3 separate regions of the Homo sapiens genome follow, and regions 2 and 3 are each linked to region 1. The links are contacts of gene promoters, found by promoter capture Hi-C in blood cells and fetal thymus (Javierre and others, 2016). All regions are on one chromosome and are shown on one strand. Each heading gives the region's core, a stretch centred on a gene start or on the middle of the fragment in contact. The rest is flanking DNA. Distances are from core to core; before and after follow the strand shown.

Region 1 (4,120 bases), core at 809-3,308:
GCCTGGTCAACACGGTGAAACCTCATCTCTACTAAAAATACAAAAATTAGCTGGGCACGGTAGCGCATGCCTGTGATCCCAGCTACTCGGGAGGCTGAGGCAGGAAAATCGCTTGAACCTGGGAGGCGGAGGTTGCAGTGAGCCGAGATCGCGCCACTGCACTCCAGCCTGGGCAACAGAGTGAGACCCCGTTTCTAAATAAATAAATAAATAAAAATAAACAATCATTACAATCAGAGCTGTGCAACAGGGTAGGGCCAGGCTGCCCTGGAGATGCCTACTCAGGGAAGGGGGTGGACACATACTTGTCTGGAACGTGCAGAGAGATCCAAGTGCCAGAGGCAACTGCGTCAAAGCCTCTGCTCTTTCAACATGGGTGTCCTTTTGCTCCAAGCCTGAAACTTGCTGCTTCATCTGCCACTACTTTTGAAATTTAATGTATCAGCCCTCACTAAAGAAAAGTCTTAGGTTTACCTAAAATGCAGAGATACATCTAATCTTACCAAGGAATTGGAAGATTAGTATTTGTTTTGGGAAAGGATTCAGGGGATCAGCACAGTAACCCAACAACAAAAGGACTCACGCAGAAACATCCCTCACTTTGCCAATAGTGGACTACACAAGAGAAGGACAGCTTTAGGTTAGCCTGGTCCATTATTAATTCACCTAAAGATCTTGAGCAAAGCTTGTAGTCTCTGTTCTTTAGTTCCCTGTGCTAATGAGCAACAAAATCCAAAGGCACAACCTAGGGGCTACCTGGGTGTTTGCAGCTTACACTACAGCTGACCAATGCACCCAGCATAGGAACAACAGAAGCAAGGCAGGACTCCACTGCCTACATCATCCCTGACAAGCTGTTCGACTCGGGCAATGCCCTTAACCTCTCTGATTTTCACTTTATTTATCTGTCCAAGGGATGACAATTATCACTTGCTAAGCATAACTTGATGGGTTCCTGCGTAACTGGTCTTTGCAACAATCCCACAAAGTGAATTCTACTACTAGTTCCACTTCACAAATGTAGACACTGAGATTCCTGTGCCTTTAACACCCATGCTCTAACTCCTCCCTACATGACACCTATCCTCGCCTCCCTCACCCCCCTCCCCCGTTCCAGCCGGCCACATTCCTGCGTGGTTGTACCAGACAGCAAAAGGTCAGAGAGATCTGGGCCCTCACAGAAACCCACACGCTTCACTCTTGGGATTCACCTTTGCGAGATCTTACTGCAGTTTCTAAAACTTTCACCCTCGTTGAATTCAGGTGAAAGCCTTCAAATTCTAAAAGGTTGAGAAGAGGACCTGTGGACAACATCCCCTTACTATTAACAGCACAGCAATTCCGTAGTCTCACGAGGCTGAACTCTTTTGGTGCTGAGAGTAACAGCACTGTGGGCACTCTGCTTCTTCCTCCAGTGCTGGCCGGGCCCTCCGTCCCAACCAAGCCTCCACCCCACTGCGGCCTGGCAGTCCGGCGGGCATCCAGGCGGGAGGCGGCACCGCGTGAGGCTGAGCGCGGCACCGACGGGGCGGGGAGGGGGATGTGGAACTGACTCTGACGGGGAACGGGAATACTGAGGGGACGACAGACCGGCCAGGAGAAGGATCTGGGGCAATGGGAGACTGACCCAGTAGAGAGGGGATACTGGGGTGATGAGGAACCCAAGCGGTAGGGGGGGATGCTGGAGGGTGGGGGAATTCCGGAGACCGGCCGGGGAGGAGGAAGGTACTGGGGGGACGTGGAACCGACCCTGTTGAGGAAACGGATAATGGGGGCGGGGTGATACCGGCCGTCGGAGTGAGGTACCGGACCTGCGCCGCACGTCCACCGCTCACCTGCGCGTGGGCCACCACCAGGCTCTTATTGCCCTCTCCGTGGTACCCCCATTCATTCTCGTCCATCTTCCCCTCTTCCATGCCCAGGCGCAGCCCTGGCGCCTCGCGGGCTAGGACTCGGGGACGCGAGCTGGGGGCCGCCCGCCTCGCTGGGAACCAGCCGCTGCGGTCGGGGGAGGAGCGCCTGTCAGCTGCCGCCCCCGCTCGACCCCGCCGCGGCGACTAGCAAGCTGTGGCCGCCGGAAGCCACGCCCCCGGCGCCTGCCATGACGGAGTCGGGCAATTCCGGGTTCGTGACACTTTCCTCACACCGATCGCGACGGTGGATGGGCCGGCGGCCATCTTAGGTACTGGTAGAGCGACTCATTTCCGGAACGCGGTCTTGGGAGCCGGAAGAGAAGCTTCCGGCCTCGGCGCCGGATGTGTAGCTGGCGGAAGGAGCCGGCGGCTTTTCGGCGCCCGGTAGTGACCGGCAGTCCCCGGGTAGCCAGGGTGTCTGGGTGTTGGGACCGCTTAGTCGCGAGACCCCAGCAAACCTCTTGGCGTCTCTGAGCCTCAGCTTTTGCTTCTGTAGAATAGGGTGTACTCATCGTACATTTCATGGGAATACCTAACGCAGTCATTTGGATGGTCCTGTGAGGTAGAAAACATTGTCCAACGTTCTACGCGAGGAAATGTGGCTGGGCCACAGGACTGGACTCCCCAGTCCCGCTTTTGCCTGAAGACTTCGAGGGACGCAGTTGGAGCGCAAGGCTCCTGCTTGGCGGTGAGGCAGAGGGCTAACGACCTTCCTTCTCCTAAATTCACTGATGCGGCGGCAAGAATGGCACCGCCTCGTAGAGCTACCGCATTTCCCAAACTCGTAGTCTCAGGACCACTTTATACTCATAAAAATGAGGGCCCCAAGCTTTTGCTAATGTGGGTTACAGCTATCGATGTTACCACATTCTAAGTTAAAATGCTTTAAAGTTTTTTGTTGTTTCGTTTAAAAGTAAACAGCCGGGCGCGGTAGCTCACGCCTGTAATCCCAGCACTTTGGGAGGCTGAGGCGGGCGTATCACCTGAGGTCAGGAGTTTGAGACCAGCCTGGCCAACATGGTGAAACCCTGTCTCTACTAAAAATACAAAAATGAGCCAGGTATGGTGGCGCAGGCCTGTAATCCCAGCTACTCCGGAGGCTGAGGCAAGAGAATCATTTGAACCCAGGAGGCGGAGGTTGCGGTAAGCCAAGATCGCGCCATTGCACTCCAGCGTGGACGACAGAGTGAGACTCCATCTCAAAAAAAAAAAAAAAAAAAAAAGTAAACATTACATTCCACGCCCACCACCAAAATAAAGGAGTGGTATTGTTTTACACTTTTGCAAATCTTTTTAAAATCTGACCTAATAGGTTCTCACATGTGCTTCGGCATTCGGTCTGCTGCAATATATTGCATTGGTTGACATACACATTGTGAAGAACATCTGCAGTTATGTAGTTCACAAAGAGAGGACCTGCAGACCCAACTTTGAGAACGGCTGGGCACCTTGCCAGGCCTTGGGAATTGTAGTGAAATCAGGCCAGTGACTCAGGAAAATGAGCTGAAGGCTTTGAGCATCTCTTTCCTCCATTTTAGGCCTCAAAAGGGAGGCTGGGGCAGGGCATGGTGACTCATGCCTGTAATCCCAGCATTCTGGGAGGCCGAGGTGGGCGGATCGCTTGAGCTTAGGAATTCCAAACCAGCCTGGCAACATGGTGAAACCCTGTCTCTACAAAAAATTAGCAGGGTGTGGTATCTGTGCCTGTAGCCCCAGCTACTTGTAGGGCTGAGGGGCTGAGGCGGGAGGATCGCTTGTGCCCGGGAGGTTGAGGCTGCAGTGAGCCGTGATCAAGCCACTGCACTCTAGCCTGGGTGACAAAGCAAGATTCTGTCTCAAAAAAAAAAAGTGGGGGAGGCTGGGTGTGGTGGCTCACGCCTGTAATCCCAGCACTTTGGGAGGCCAAGGCGGTGGATCATGAGGTCAGGAGTTTGAGACCAGCCTGGCCAATATGGTGAAACCCCATCTCTACTAAAAATACAAAAATTAGCTGGGTGTGTGGTGCACGCCTGCAATCCCAGCTACTCGGGAGGCTGAGGCAGGAGAATTACTTGAACCCGGGAGGTAGAGGTTGCAGTGAGCCCAGATCGTGCCACTGCATTCCAGCCTGGGCAACAGAGCAAGACTCCGTCTGAAAGAGAAAAAAGGAGGCGGTGGGGGGGGGGTGGTGGGGAAGCTGGGTGGGAGGTGGCTCAGGACCCTCCACA
Region 2 (3,951 bases), core at 1,135-3,634, 790 kb after region 1:
TGCATTATGGAGTTTAGGATCTGTGATTTAGAAACGGTACTTTTATGCGCCAGTCATTTGGCATTTCTCAGTTGTCTCTGGAATCAATTAACTTTCTTGAAAGGATGAATTTACCATGTTGGTGTTTTACTGGTTAGTGCAGGAAAGTATACTAGAGGGTTTATTGCTGGAGGGTTGACTTCACAGGTCTGAAGTACATCATTCATCCTCTGAGGTAGAGCACATTTATGAATAGTAGTAACAAGCCAGCCCAGACTGTTGGAGGGGGTCACTAGACTCCATGGATGAGGTGTTTTAATTTCCTGGACCTATGAAGAGTTTGCAAGTGTTACTATCTTGAAATAAATAGTATCAACCTGTGGTTCTTTTTCCTAAATTATGAAAATTGAAATTTTATGTTTTAGATTTTGGAATGGTATTTTAATAAGAATGATATTACTAGGATTTAGCTGAGTCATTAGATTACTAGAGTAGGCTAAATAGATTCTGAATACAAATAATGTGTGTGTTTCTTCCTTTTATCATTGTATTTTTTTATTTTTAAAGTTTGTAAAGTTTAATTTGCATTTCTTTTATGACATCACTCCTTTATTATTATTAATATTTTTAGAGGGAAAAATCAAGCAGTTTTATAATTCGAACATCCCAAATCTGAAATGCTCCAAAATTCAAAACTTTTTGAGCACCAGCATGATGCACAAAGGAAATGCTCACTGGAGCATTTTGGATTTTTGATTTTTGAATTTAGAATGTTCAACTGGTAAGCATAATAACAAATATTCCAAAACTTGAAAAAGCCTGAAATCCAAAACACTTCTTGTCTTAAGTGTTTCAGTAAAGGACACCTAACCTGTATTATTGAATAACCATTGAACCAGACTGTGATCACATCACAAGCAGTGTGTGCTAAAGAGATTGCGAAAGCCAAAAAGAAGTGTCACCCTTTGATACAGCCTGGCAGATACAAACTATTACATACATCCTAATTGTCGTTAATCAAAGGAAAAGGAAAACTCTGCCTTTTTACAAGTAGGAAGTTAATTTTGGAGCCAAAGCACCTAGGCCTTCTGAGAAGACAGGGAGATACCCTTCTTTTTATTATTATTGTTTCTTAAAATTGTGGTAAAATACACCTAACATAAAATTTACCAATTTAACCATTTTTAAATGTACAGTTCAGTGGCATTAAGTATATATATTTTTTTGAGATGGAGTCTCGCTCTGTCACCAAGGCTGTAGCGCAGTAGCGTGATCTCAGCCCACTGCAACCTCTGCCTCCCGGGTGCAAGCAGTTCTGCCTCAGCCTCCTGAGTAGCTGGGATTACAGGCGTGCGCCTGCCACCACACCCAGCTAATTTTTGTATTTTTAGTAGAGACAGGGTTTCACCATCTTGGCCAGGCTGGTCTTGAACTCCTGACCTCAAGTGACCCACCACCCTTGGCCTCCCAAAGTACTGAGATTATAGGTGTGAGCCACCACGCCTGTCCCCGGTGGCATTAAGTATATTCACATTGTTGTATAACCATCACCACCATCCATTCCCAGAATTTTTTCCTCATCCCAAACTGGAACTGTGTACCCACTAAACTGTAATTCCCCATTTCTTCCATGCCCCAGCTCCTGGTAACCACCATTCTCCTCTCTGTCTCTGAAGTTGTCTACCCTATGAGCCTCATATAATGAGATCGTATAGTATATGTAATTTTGTGTCTGGTTTATTGCATTTAACACAATGTCTTCAAGGTTCATACATGTTGTAACGTGTCAGAATTTCCTCCTTAAGGCTCAATAACATTCTGTTGTATTGGATAGACCACATTTTGTTTATCCATTCATCAGTGGGTGGACACTTGGGTTTCATCCTTTTTGTCATTGTAAATGGTGCTGCTGTGAACATGAATGTACCGACATCTCTTCGGACCCATTTTTTCAACCTGGAAGTGTAATTGCTGTATCTTAGGGTAGTTCTGCGTTCAGTTTTTTGAGGAATCACCATACGATTTCCCAAGAGGCCACGCTGTTTTACATTCCCACCAGCAATGCACAAGGAATCTGTTTTTCTCCATATATTCTTGTTGACATTTGTTATTTTCTTTTTTTTAAAAAAATAGTAGCCATCCTAATGGGTGTGAGGTATTCAGTGTCTCATTGTGGTTTTGATTTATATTTCTGTAATAATGAGTGAAGTTGAGCATCTTTTCATGTCCCACTCCCTTATTTTAAGAAATGTTTTTCCTTGTTTTTAAGATCACTGTACCCAATTCTCATTTATTCTAAATGAGATATATAAGATAAGCTTATTCAGCTATGATTTCAGCTTACCTGAAGAGAGAGATTTCTTTTTAGAGGCATTGCTGCTATGTGTCATAACATTTAAATTGCCCTTTAAACAGCAACAAAAATCTGCCACCAAATTGGAGTTGACTTTTTTTAATGTTCTTATTCTTCAGTTGGACTAGAGTAGGGAACAGAAGCTTCAGTGTTAGTTTTTCCCATTTCATACCTATTGACTGCCCATTGGGAAGAGGCTGAAGACTGCCTTTTTGGTAGTTGTTTTTTAAAACAAAATAATTTAGGTGGACCTATACGCTCTTATGTCAGGTTGTTTTATATCTTCTAAATCAGCTAGCTGGCTGGAGGATGTGTCACATTGTTCCCTGAACTGGTGTAAAATTATTCTGAAGAAAAACCACATTAACGGTATGTTTTCCTAGTGTCAGAAAATGTATGTATGAGAACCCATAGTGTTTCAGGTCCTGTGTGAAAAGTATAAAGAAACCTTTTTACATAGCTTCCTTAAAAGTACATAGTAACTGACATTTGTCAAGCGCTTATTATTTGTGAATGCTTCTGAGCTGTTTACATGTAGTATATTTAATCATCGCAGCTACCCTATGAGATAGAGGAATACTATTATTCTTACAGATGAGGAAATGGAAGTACAGAAAGTATTAAAGTAGGCAGTGGAGTTCACCTACCTGGTGCCAGAGACACAAACCTCATTGTAGAGTGTTTTTTCACTGGAAACTAGGAGTAAGTAACAGTGTCAAGTTTTTCTTCTTATGGGGTCTTCCTGTAGCTGTGTTTCAGAATTAATAAACAATTATACTTGCCAAGTAAGTTTGGGAGTTTTTAAGTCATTATTCTTTGTAAAAGTCCTGAGTTTTGATATATCTGCCTTTTTAATGATGAAATGTAAAACTACTGAGATAAAAAGATTTACCTAGGTATATTTGGTAAATTTATAGTGGCATAAAGTTATCATTGTAAATCGAAGTACAGAGTACTTTCTTGAGACCAGAAACGGGCCCTTTTGCCACTTCTTAAACTTGTCAACACTAATGACACCTACCATATTTCTTGGGGAGGGGGTAGACAGGGAGGAAGAAGCTGAGAAGTGTTGTGATTCCCATCCTGGCTGCCCCAGGTTAGAGTGTTGTATTGGACACTAGCCCCCTCATCACTTCACAAGAGCTGAAGCCTAATGCTCCTCGGGGTTGTTTACAGAAGGAGTTTTAGAGTTTCACTTCCTTGATCTTGAAGCCTGCATTTTGATAGAGTGGAAATGGTAGCCATGACAAAAATTAATCAAGGCCTGGTGCTTTTAAAATGGCAGATACTTTCAGTGGCTACTAGCCTGGGACTTTCAGCAAGGAGGCAGCTCATAGTTCGAAGTCTGATTTACCTCTGGTGGATGACTTTACCCCCTTTGAAGGGCTACCTGTAAGTAAGTGTTTTCAGGGCTTAATTTTTTACGTCATTTTGTTCTTCGAGGGGGTTCAAAATCAAATAATCTGAACATTGCGTTTAATAGTTTTAACCCACTTCTGAAATTAACATTAAGAACTAGAAGTACACATTTCATTGTATTATGCCCAGTCCAAGCCAGGCATTGGAAGGCCAGGGAAGAGAAGAAGCAGATAAATAAGAGTGAGAGAGTAGCTTAGTAT
Region 3 (4,195 bases), core at 78-2,577, 910 kb after region 1:
CCTTGGCAGCTGCAGGTGGGCGGTGATGGTGAGGGGCTGAGGGGCTAAGGAGCCTTGTCATGGATGCTGCTAGGAGACTGAGCCAGGTTTCCTGTCCGGAGATTCTGGAATTCCGAGCAGGGGTGGCCCACATTTCCCAGCACGATGCGGATTTTGCTGAGGGAGGATGGGGAGAGAAAGAGGGTGAGGGAGGAAGGGCGGGCAGGGATGTGGCCCCTGCCCAGCGCGGATGCCCCAAGGATGCAGCGCTGGCGAGGCAGGGAAGTCCTCCTCTAGAACGCGTGCAAGTGACCCCTCAGAGCGCACCTCCGCTTCTCCTCCCCACCGTGGGGGCTCAGTTCCCTGGACACGGGGGCCAGGGTTCCCATACTCCTCGCCCCTTAGGTCACGGGCCTGGGGGGCTCAAATGCCAGGGAGCTCTCTCTTGACAGAGCTGACCAGCCCGGCCCCTTAGGTCACGGGCCTGGGGGGCTCAAATGCCAGGGAACAGAGCTGACCAGCCCGTGCCAGCGCACTCCCGGCCCGGGCTTCTGTCCTCTTCCTCTGGGGCTGAGCATCAGGGAAGTCCGCGGGATCCTGCGAGGGAGGCGGCAGTCCCCAGCCGAAAATGAGGGGAAAGAGGAAGTGGTGTCCCAACCAGAAACTCAGTGGGGAACGGAGGGAGGCAGCGCGGCCGAGGAGGAGGAACACCCCCACCGTGGTGGGGGTCAGAAGAAAGTTAGGGCCAAGTATTTGCTTGTCGGCCTTCTAGACTAGGAAGGCTCTCCTGCGGGCTCCACTCCCGCACCCCGCGTCTCTCCTTCTGCCTTGCCCGGGTTCCCCCAACTTATCTTATCCTCGGGGTCCCGCCCACCTTCTCCCCGGGGTCCCACCCCACTTTCAGTCTCAAGGCTCCCCCAGCTCACCTTCGCGCCCGCGGACCCCTGGGTCTACCTTCAGCCTTGGGGGCCCTTCTCGGCCTATCTTCCACCTTCGAGATCCCCCCACCCGCCTTCTCCCCCGGCAGGGTCCCCCCGGCCGTCTTCTCCCCCGGCAGGGTCCCCCAACCCACCTTCTCCCCCGCAGGGTTCCCCAGCCCGCCTTCCCGGCGGCGGGAGCGGCGGCCCAGGCCGGCGGGCGGAGGCGGCGCCACCCGGGGCGCTGACGTAGAGGCCGCTCGGCGGCCGGGGGTCCCTTCGGTGGGGCCGCGGCTCCCCGCCCGCCGCCCCCGCGCGTCCATTCCCTTTTGTGTCCCGCGCGCGGCCCGTCCCCCGCGCACACTAGCGCCCTGAGCCCCGCGGGCCGGCGGGCGGCTCCCGGCGCGGCCCCTCCAGCCAGCGCGCCCGGCATTGTGTGGACGCGCCTGGCCGGGAGCGCGCGCGGGGGCTGTCGTGCGCCCCCGTCCCCGTCCCCTCCCGGCCGCGGCGCCGCCTGCGCCCCGCCGCCCCCGCCGCCCCCGCGCGGCCCGGCCCCCGGCCCGGCCCGGACCGACCCGGGCAGCGCAGCGGCGGGGCCGAGCGGCGGCGCGGCGCGGCAACATGGCGACGGTGCCCGTGTACTGCGTCTGCCGGCTCCCCTACGACGTTACCCGCTTCATGATCGAGTGCGACGCCTGCAAGGACTGGTTCCACGGCAGGTGAGCGCGCGGCGGCTGCTCGGCTCGGCCCGGCCCGGCCCGGCCACCTTGCCCGACCGAGCCCCGCGCCCCCGGCTGCGCGCCCGCAGGCCCGGCTCGGGGACGGGCCGCCGCCGCCGCCGCCGCATTCCGGGCGCCCCGGTCGGGGCTGGGCCGTGCCGGGCCGCGCGCCCTTTTGTGCCCAGGGCGGGGGCGCCAAGCACGGGGCCCGCGCTGGGCGCCCCTGGCCGCCGCGCACAAAGCGAGGCCCGCGGGCCGGGAGGTGGGCTCGGGGCTCGGGGCGCGGGGAAGTTGGGGCTCCAGGCCCGGGCCGGGCCGCCTGTCAGCTGGGTCGCGGCGGCCGCAGAGGCCGGGCATCCGGAGGGAGGCCGAGGCCCGGAGCCCCCGCCGCCTCCCCCCTGCGAAGTTGCAGGAACTTTCCCCGCGCGGGCTCGGGGTTGGCCGGGCCGGGAGAAGCGGGCGCGCAGCCCGGCGCGGGTCCCGGGAGAGGCGCGAGTGGCGGGCTCCGACTCCGGCAGGGCTGGGGAGTCCGTGGGGGCTCCGGCGAGGTGGCAGCCGGCGCGCCCACCCTCCGCCGTGGCCGGCGAGCTCCCTTGGACCTTGTCCCCGAGGGCAGGACCCCTCCCGGACCCCCGCGGAGCAGCTAGACCCGGCAGGCCTGCAGGTCCGCGGGCAGGAGTGCGGTGACAGAATAGTGTCTGTGAGTTGGGTAAGGGGGGTTTGTTGTGGCTTTGCCACCTCCTCCCTGGCCTTCAGTTTTCCCCGTTTCTCTCCTCTCCGTTCCCGGCAGGAACGCCGGTTTTGACATGATCTTATGCTCCCTAAGGAAGATGGGGAGGGGGGAAGGAGGTAACGCTTGGAGACACTGAAAACCCCCGCCCTCTTGGCCCTTGCCGATGGCCATGACCTGGCCCCATGCCTAGGGCAGGTCCCTTCCCACCAAGAAGTAAATGGAGGAGGAGGAAGAGGAGGTGACAGTGTTGCCCAAACTGCTCCAACAGGTTCTCTTGCATCTGACTTTGCCTGTGGGATGTGTTTGGACCCGGGGCTGGCCAGGGCTGTATGCCCTCTGGGGCTCCAGTCCCAAACCACCGGCAGCAAGCAGCCGGGGGAAAGAGAGGGGTGTGTGGTGGTGGGTGGTCCGGGATTCTCCTTCCAGAGAGGAGATCCTCCTGCAGGTTCTAAGACTGGGTCTTCAAGACTGGTCAGTGGTGCTTAAGAGTGGGCTGTGGCCCCAAGTCCAGTCCTGCCAGTTTACATGTGGGGACCTGGGTGGCTGGGATGTGACAGGGCCTGCTATGTCTGTCAGCCCCAGTCCTGAGTCCTACCTCCCTGCTGTTAGAAGGGCCTGGGACTCTGTGGGGTGGGGATGCCCACGGAAATCTGGGCTGCCTTCCTGGGTATGCCCAGGGCTGTGGAAGCCCCTTAGAGCAAGGGAGACTGAGTGTGAACACCGGGCTCTGCCCAGAACAGGGCTGACATGCACACCCTCAACTGGCAGCCGTTGAGAAGTTCATGGCCGGGCCAAAGTGAGTGAGAGCCTCTAAGGCTCCTCATATCCAGGGATGCTGAGCTGCTGGCCCTGAAAAGCCCTGAAAGTGGTGGGGCCTCTGCCTTCTCCCCCATCTCCACCGGAGCCCTGACCTGGCGAGCGCAGTCACTCTGCTACAGAACCTTCTGGGCACCTGTGTCAGCTCCTGGCTGCTGCCCACACTCGGGGCCCAGAGTAGGGAGAGTGAGAGAACGCGAGAAGACCTTTGTCTCGCTGCTTAGGGGACCCTCTGGGAAGGGAAGGCTAGTTCTGAACTAGACTTCGAGGCCAAGGGAAAAACTCCAGGAATGAGGGGCAGGCAGGCGACAGGGGCTGAGAGCTGGCCTGAGAGCTGGTTGGTGTCATTTGCTGTATTGGCCCATGCAAAAAATCCCCAAAAGGGGGATGTCTGGGGAGGCTCTAGCTCCTTTTTTTCTTATTTGAGGTCTCTGATTGAATCCAATACAGGCAGTTGATCAGCACAGATTTATTCTCACCTATTTGGGGTGGCTGTGGGGTCTGAAAGAAGCTGTGCTTTCCCTCGGCCATGAAAGTCATTTTCTCCTGCATCTAACCAAGAGTCATCTGCCAAAGTGAACCCTACAGGGAGAAAGCCTCTGGGTGTGCCTGCTCCCCAATTGTTCTGGGCAGGTGTGTGATGGGGAGGACAGCCGTCAGGGGTTGGTGGTGTTGGTACAGCTCTCACAGCCCTGGGCAAATCCTTTGGTCTCTCAGCATCACTTTTCTTTTCTCATCAGTAAAATGAACGTGTGTGACCAGACCCCGGGGTTTCTCCACCTCCAGATAGTCTTGTATGGCCCCGGTGGTTCTTTCCTGATCTTCGTACCGCCTGTACTGTGATTTACTTCCTATTTAACATTTCAACTCTCTTTTTAAAAGTTTGAATACTTTTAAACTTTTTATTTTGAGGGGACTTTAGACTTACAAAAGAGTTCCAAAAATGGTACAGTTTCCCTGTATCCTTCTCTCCCTTTCCCTGCAGTGAACATCTTACCCAGCCATGGGACCAGTACCACAATGAAGGAGTT

The links. Contacts are between HindIII fragments. The CHiCAGO score rates a contact against its expected background, and 5 or more counts as called.
Region 2: a fragment that was not itself captured here is called in contact with the fragment with the promoter of IPPK in region 1 in 2 of 17 cell types (total B cells and naive CD8 T cells); the score reaches 5.9 in total B cells.
Region 3: the fragment with the promoter of PHF2 here is called in contact with the fragment with the promoter of IPPK in region 1 in 2 of 17 cell types (naive CD8 T cells and total CD8 T cells); the score reaches 7.1 in naive CD8 T cells.

What each region holds. Positions count from the first base shown.
Region 1 is chr9:92,668,073-92,672,192 of GRCh38, forward strand. It overlaps IPPK (inositol-pentakisphosphate 2-kinase), which reads right to left and starts at 2,059. Exons shown (of 13, transcript NM_022755.6): 1 at 1,836-2,059. The coding sequence starts at 1,916. It overlaps LOC107987095 (a long non-coding RNA gene), which reads left to right and starts at 2,290. Exons shown (of 2, transcript XR_001746837.2): 1 at 2,290-2,601. RefSeq lists enhancers at 1,161-1,330, 2,071-2,520, 2,531-2,580, 3,335-3,629, 3,887-4,056 and a silencer at 1,851-2,030. The HindIII fragment of the contact is 1,551 bases long and covers 684-2,234 here.
Region 2 is chr9:93,461,094-93,465,044 of GRCh38, forward strand. All of the region lies in intron 1 of FAM120A (family with sequence similarity 120 member A), which reads left to right. Among named protein-coding and RNA genes, the nearest start is that of FAM120AOS, 9.5 kb to the left of the region's middle. The HindIII fragment of the contact is 178 bases long and covers 2,296-2,473 here.
Region 3 is chr9:93,575,257-93,579,451 of GRCh38, forward strand. It overlaps PHF2 (PHD finger protein 2), which reads left to right and starts at 1,328. Exons shown (of 22, transcript NM_005392.4): 1 at 1,328-1,615. The coding sequence starts at 1,518. RefSeq lists enhancers at 1-230, 231-825, 507-786, 2,968-3,117 and silencers at 887-946, 1,057-1,356, 1,947-2,106. The HindIII fragment of the contact is 11,549 bases long and covers 1-4,195 here.